2 separate regions of the Homo sapiens genome follow, and region 2 is linked to region 1. The links are contacts of gene promoters, found by promoter capture Hi-C in blood cells and fetal thymus (Javierre and others, 2016). All regions are on one chromosome and are shown on one strand. The core of a region is centred on a gene start or on the middle of the fragment in contact, and the rest is flanking DNA. Distances in the headings are between cores, read along the strand shown.

Region 1 (3,375 bases), core at 875-3,374:
TTCACTGGTGTGCCCACTGATAAACTTCAACTGCCCCTTGGCCCCAACCTCTGGTAGTAGGACTTCCTTGCCATCTGTCACCACATAGAAGAACAGGGAGACCAAAGGGAGGGCAGAAGTACCTGAGTCCTGAGTGACCAACGAGGACAGAAAAGAACAGTGTTAGATTGGCATTCTCTCTTGAATTCCCTCTTGAGAATCAGCCTTAGTGAGGGAAAGGAACAGTAGGCAGGGGTAATGTAAACAACATACGTCTGGCAGTAATGAGGGTCACTGAGGGTAACCAGGTACACCCAAGCGGGATGAGATAAAGAGCCTTGCACTGGGTGCCCTGGGAGATAACAGTATACTTTTGTACTATGTCCTACACTAAGAACTCTACACAGTTGATTTCATTTAATTCTTTTTTTTTTTTTTTTTTTTTGAGGCGGAGTCTCGCTCTGTCGCCCAGGCTGGAGTGCAGTGGCGCGATCTCAGCTCACTGCAAGCTCCGCCTCCCAGGTTCACGCCATTCTCCTGCCTCAGCCTCCCGAGTAGCTGCGACAATAGGCGCCCGCCACCACGCCCAGCTAATTTTTTGTATTTTTAGTAGAGACCGGGTTTCACCGTGTTAGCCAGGATGGTCTCCATCTCCTGACCTCATGATCCGCCCGCCTCAGCCTCCCAAAGTGCTGGGATTACAGGCGTGAGCCACCGCGCCTGGCTTTTTTTTTTTTCTTGAGATGGAGTTTTGCTCTTGTTGCCCAGGCTGGAGTGCAATGGCACGATCTCGGCTCAGCGCAACCTCCACCTCCCTGGTTCAAGCAATTCTCCTGCCTCAGCCTCCCAAGTAGCTTGGATCACAGGCATGCGCCACCACGCCCGGCTAATTTTATATTTTCAGTAGAGACGGTGTTTCTCCATTTTGGTCAGGCTGGTCTGGAACTCCTGACCTCAGGTGATCCGCCAGCCTCGGCCTCCCAAAGTACTGGGATTACAGGCGTGAGCCACCGCGCCCAGCCTCTTTTTCATTTAATTCTTACAGTCCTGTGAGTTAAGTGCTATTATTATCTACATTGTACATTTTACAAGCAAGGAAATCAAGGCTTAGAGATGGTAAATAGAAATGGTTATACAGGCAGTTGTTTAAGGCAGGATTTAAGCCAGGCAGCCAGAGCCCACTTCATGCTGCATTTGCTGGCAGCAAGGGAAGGATGGAGGGGGTCTGGGCTGAGAAAAGGGTGTCCTGAGGCCCTGACCTGAGGCTCTACAGTCACTCTCCAGCTCCAGTCCCCTCCGTGCTGACCCCCAGGCCTCTTGACGAACTCAGTGGTGAGCCTTAAGGCCCCATCCTGGATGTGTTGGCGCCCGAAGGAGAGGCCGTCGTGGAACTCCCAGCCATAGGGACCCACACCGTCCCCCTGCTCACACGTGTGCCTGAGCTTAGGAGTCCCCGGGGTGGTGCCCTGCTGCGCCCACATCAGTCCTGGGGGTAGAATGGCCACGTAAGTCAAAGAGCAGGGGACCTGTCCCTCCGGGTCTCCGGGTCATCCCTCTTCATAACTCTCCTGATCCATTCCTTCCCACCCTTGCTCTCGCTTCAAGCTGGGGCGCCCAGATTAGGAGTCCGCCTGCCTGCCCGCCCTGGGGCCCGGTTACCGGTGAGGAGGGGCTTCGGGCTGCGGGTCTTCATGCCGAAGTAGACGTGAGGGCGGTAGGTTCCCCAGAAGAGGTCCGGGGCCACGGCGGGGCTGGAGGAGTCGGCAGGCAACACAGGAGGCGCGGAGTGCAGCGTGACCGCCCGCCGCGCACGGTACCACGCCAGCACCCAGCGCCCCGACATACCCAGGGCCAAAGACAGGACCACGACGGCCAGAGCCACTCCTCCAGCCGTGCTACGCGGCCCGCCGCCCCGGCCGTCCCGTCGCCCGGGGCCTCCCCGAGCCGCCCTCTCGGCTGTCCGCACTCCCTCTGCCGGCACTGCGCGGCGCCGCCGCTCGCCCCGAGCCATCCTGGCACTGAGGTCCGCGTCACAAGAGCTCGGAGAGGCGGCAGTGGAGCCCGGGTCCTGCCTCACCTCTCCGGCTCCCGCCTCTCGCCCTGGCGACCACCGTCCGGTTAGCGACACCTGCCAGCCAGCGCCTGCGCCTCCGCCTCCGCCTCCCGCCGGAAGTCCCGCCCCGCCACGTTAGGTTAAGTCCCAGAGTCCGGAACCGCTGCCTGCGGCTTGACACAGGGTTGGTACGTAGCGTCTGTCCTGGGCGTTGGTCCACCGGGATTGCGTTTATCTGGCGACCCCATGGAGTTCACAGGCTCGGAAAAACCAATCTAACGTTGGGCTGAGGCATGAGAATCGTTTGAACCCGGGAGGCGGAGGTTGCAGTGAGCCGAGATTGTGCCACTGCACTCCAGCCTGGGCGACAGAGCGAGACTTCGTCTCAAAAAAAAAAAAAAAAGACTGATGTGGCCAGGCACCGAGGCGCACATCTGTAATCCCAGCACTTTGGGAGGCCGAGGCAGGTGGATCACCAGACATGAGGAGTTGGAGACCAGCCTGGTCAACTTGGTGAAACCCCATCTCTACTAAAAATACAAAAATTAGCCGGGTGTGGTGGTGGGTGCCTGTAATCCCAGCTATTCGGGAGGCTGAGGCAGGAGAATTGCTTGAACCTGGGAGGCGGAGGTTGCAGTGAGCCGATATTGCGCCATTGCACTCCAGCTTGGGCAACAAGAGTGAAACTGTTTCAAAAAAAAAGAAAGAGAGAGAGAGAGAGAGATGGAGGGAGGGAGGGAGGGACGGAGGGAGAGAGAGAGAGAGAGAGAGAGACTGATGCTTTATGCAACACGACCACTTATATTTCACTATAATCTGACTGGTGGCCCCACTCTCCACTAGTGGTAGACTTTTTGCTTATGAAATCATCTGACCAAACCCAATGGTTAGTCCTGTTTTTGTCTTTCTTGCTACCGTTGCATTTGTCGACATCCTTATTGTAGCACTTATTACATACCTGTTTCATTTTTCATCTTTGTATCACAGTACTAATCAATTATAGGCATAAGGCAGATGCTAAATATTTATAAATTCAACACATGTTTATTGTACACCCTATATCGCATTATGCAAGGTGCTGGGGACTCAGAGAAAATGGCCCCAACCTCAAGTTCACAGTCTAGAAGCACAATGCCAGCACTCAATGCATGTTGAACCATACCCATTTTTTTTTTTTTTTTTTTTTTGAGACGGAGTCTCGCTCTGTCACCAGGCTGGAGTGCAATGGCATGATCTCGGCTCACTGCAACCTCTGCCTCCAGGGTTCAAGTGATTCTCCTGCCTCAGCCTCACGAGTAGCTGGGATTACAGGTGCCCACCACCACGCCCAGCTAATTTTTGTA
Region 2 (3,629 bases), core at 179-2,678, 210 kb before region 1:
AGATTTTAGGTTTGGAGACACTGTTTACTGGGATTGCTATTCCCATAGCCCCTAATGCAGTCCTTAGCATGGAGCAGAGTTTCTCAACCTCAGTTCTGCTGATATTTTGGACTGGATACTCCTTTGCTGCAGGGGCTGTCCCATGCACTGCAGGATGTTTAGCAGCTACCTACTAGATGCGAGTAGCATCTCCCCTCTCCGGTTGTGACAAGCAAAAATGTCTCTGGACATTGCCAAATTCCCTGGGCTCGGGGGTAGGGGGACTAAGGAGGGCCAAAGCTGCTTACAGTGAGAACCACTGGTATAAAGCCAAGGGCATATAAAACATGACTTCATTCTCAAAGTCATGATTTATATGTAGATTTTCAAGGCCACATCCTTTCCTAAATCTAGATCAACCTGAATGACTCCAAGAGCTGGAAAAGAAACCCAGGCCAGGAGAACTTTCTCTTATTTTCTTTAAAAAAAAAAAAAGTTTTTGAATAGGTAAATTAAGTTTTAAAAAAGGTACTGTTATTGAGTTGTGTCCCCCCAAAAGATATATTAAGGTCCTAACATCTATGTAACACCTATGCAAATGTAATCCAGTTTAGATTAAGTCATTATGGTGGGCCCTATTCCAACATGACTGGGGTCCATACACAAAGAGGAAAGTGCTCTGTGAAGACAGACACACAGGAGGCCATGTGGTGGAGAGGCAGAGCCGGGGGTGATGCGGCTGCCAGCCAGGAACACCAAGGACTGCTGGCCACCACCAGAAGCCAGGAGGAGGCCAGGAAGGATTCCACCTGGAGCCTCAGGGAGCACGGTGGTCCTGCCAACACCTGCTGTGGAACTCCTGGCCTCCAGAACTGCAGGAGAGTAACCTTCTGTGGTTTTAAGCCACCTAGTTTGTGGTACTTTGTTACAGCAGACCCAGGAAACAGGCACCAAAGGATATCTAAGAGAAAAGTTTGGGTTCCTCTCCTCTTGTATGGGTCTCAAATTCCCCTCTCCTGAGGCAACCTTTTGGGGATCCATGATGGGGTTCAAGGGCTCTGGGAGGGAAAGAAGGCAGGGGTGACCTCGAGTGGGCACTACAGACCATGGTTGGGAAAAGTCCCTAGAGGGCAGCTGAGAAGGGAGAAGTCTAAAGGACAGCAGGGTCACTGGGAGGCCTGGGGTGGGCACCTTCCTGTCCAGATAAGTTCCTCCCCGATTTCATGCATGGCTGGCATCTCTCCATCATCCCCGCTGCTTGTTCCGCCGGCCCCGCCACTGCCAGCCCCGCCGCCACTGCCACCACCACCACCACCTCCATTGCCTCCTCCAGGAGCTCCGCCGCCTCCTCCCACAGAGCCATTCATCTGGCCCAGCTCTGCTAGGGAGAACACAGATTTCCTGGAAGAGAAGGGGGATGAAGGAGAGTGGGTCCCCCAGAGCACCCCTCACCTCTCCAACCAAAATTATGAAATATCTTAAAAGACAGACAAAAATGCAGAAAATTGTCTAACAATATCCACACGCAGGTCACCTAGATTTTACAAATGTTCACATTTAGCCATATTTGTTTCTGATATATCTTATTATTTTTAAACTTATTTTAAACATTATTTTGAGACAGGGTCAAACTCTGTTGCCCAGGCTGGAGTACAGTGGCATGATCACAGCTCACTGCAGCCTTGACCTCCTGGGCTCAATCAATCCTCCTGCCTCAGCCTCCAGAGTAGCAGGGACTATAGGTGCATGCCACCATGCCCAGTTAATTTGATTTTTGTTTTGTAGAGACAAGATCTCACTATGTTGCCCAGGCTGGTTTCAAACTCCTGGGCTCAAGTGATCCACCTGCCTCAGCATCCCAAAGTGTTGAGATTACAGGCATGAGCCACTATGCTGAGCCTCAGATGTATTTTAAAGAGAAATAAAATGATACCGACAGAGTTGAAGCCTCCTTTTTCTCTCCCTACTGCCCATTCTCATACACACCTCTTGTCAGCAGAGGGCACCTTCTTGGGGGGCTCAATCCGGATATTTGGGTCCCATTCTCCAGGAGGAAGGACGATGACCTCATCCAGAAATTCATCAATTCCTGCGATCAGATCTTCCCGATTGCGGGCTTTGTAGGCCACGTCACTGAAGAGCTGGCGAGGAGAGAGGAGGGAGAAAAGAAAGATCGGGTCTGTTTCTGAAATGCCTGGGAGCATATCACATCTAGTTTTTAAAGGAATCCCTTTGAACCACATCTCCCACTGCCAACTCACTCTCAGTTTTTGGAATGAGACTATAGTACATTGGTAAAATATGGCACAATGGGACACAGCAGGCACTGGGGGAAGACAGCCTCTCTTGGATCTGAAGGCCAGGTCTCCATATTCTTGCTTGTAGGACTTCGGTTAAGTTACTTAACCTTTCTGTTTTCAGTTTTCCACACATCATACATATTAGAAAACCTTTGTAGAGCCCAGTCCAAGGAGCTCAGATATTTCATAACCATTTTTTACTTCCAGCCCTTCGCCCTTGGAGGCTCAGGCCGTGTTCTTCACACTGTCTCCAGAGTGTGCTTTCTGACTTACAGATTCGATGGGACTATGCTCACATTTAACCCTTTCCCATTTAGGCAAAAAAAAAAAGTGCAGCTCACTGCCAGCACTCATTTAATTTTACATAAACACACTCTTTGAGGCCGAAGCAAATCTGACTGATTTTCAATGTGAAAATGCAATATAAAAATTATTCTTAGAATTATTTCTAAAAAGAACTAACATTGGAATCATTGGAATGATCAGAATCATCTATTTTGGAAACACTGGATTCATCAAATGAATCTTAGGCCAAAAACTGTTCGAGAATGATGTTAGCATCACTCGTAGGAATGCTAGTTTTCTAGGATTTGATATTTTCAATGATTGAGAGTTAGTGTATTTTGTAAATGGAAATGCCACAACTAAAAACAGAATGCTTTAAGTAGAATGATGTCTTTTGTTTCCAAAGTCAACATATAAGAGCAATGCAAAAATAATAATAAAAGTGAGACATTTCGTGGGGAAAAGTTATCTCAGGGTAAAGCCTGCAGCCGCAAGCACCGCCAGTGAGTATTCTTGGCACAAACGGAAAAAGAGTTAAAGTCCTCTAGGCTCCCCATCACTCTGGGGACAGAGTGTGACTCAGCTCTGCTTACAGGCTCTGTGTAGTCTCTGGCTCACCTCTCCAGTATTACCTCCTGCCCTTGAAGCTCTTACACTGAGCCTATATCAAACCACCTCCATCCAGCTTCTCTGAGCCTGATCCATTTCCTTTGTTTGGAATGCTTGCCTCACAGCCTGGTGCTGGGTCTACCTTCCTCCTGCTCCTCCTTAGCTTTAAAGCCCCCTCATCTGTGAAGCCCTCCTTGACCCCCTGGGCAGCTAGCACATGGTTAGTTTTACAATTATCAATCTGTCCCTCACACTTGATTGGTTCTCCTAAAGGACAATGACTATTCCCTGATTCTCATAATCTTTAGCATCCTATGTAGTGCCTGGTACACAGTAGGTGCTCAAATGTGCTGGCTGGATAAGTTAATGAATGAAGGTGCAGTGCTTGGTGCAGGAGCTGTAAAATTCAGGAGTACAAGCTTCTGGTTACCACTTACATCATCTACCATGAGGGTT

Evidence for each region. Contacts are between HindIII fragments. The CHiCAGO score rates a contact against its expected background, and 5 or more counts as called.
Region 2: a contact is called between a fragment that was not itself captured here and the fragment with the promoter of MOGS in region 1, in 1 of 17 cell types (naive CD4 T cells). The highest score is 6.0, in naive CD4 T cells.

Annotation. Positions count from the first base shown.
Region 1 is chr2:74,463,258-74,466,632 of GRCh38, forward strand. It overlaps MOGS (mannosyl-oligosaccharide glucosidase), which reads right to left and starts at 2,125. Exons shown (of 4, transcript NM_006302.3): 1 at 1,639-2,125; 2 at 1,239-1,465; 3 at 1-129. The coding sequence starts at 1,990. RefSeq lists a silencer at 1,692-1,911. The HindIII fragment of the contact is 14,256 bases long and covers 1-3,375 here.
Region 2 is chr2:74,251,009-74,254,637 of GRCh38, forward strand. It overlaps SLC4A5 (solute carrier family 4 member 5), which reads right to left. Exons shown (of 31, transcript NM_133478.3): 14 at 3,611-3,629; 15 at 1,966-2,120; 16 at 1,171-1,380. Among named protein-coding and RNA genes, the nearest start is that of MTHFD2, 54 kb to the left of the region's middle. The HindIII fragment of the contact is 4,323 bases long and covers 1-3,590 here.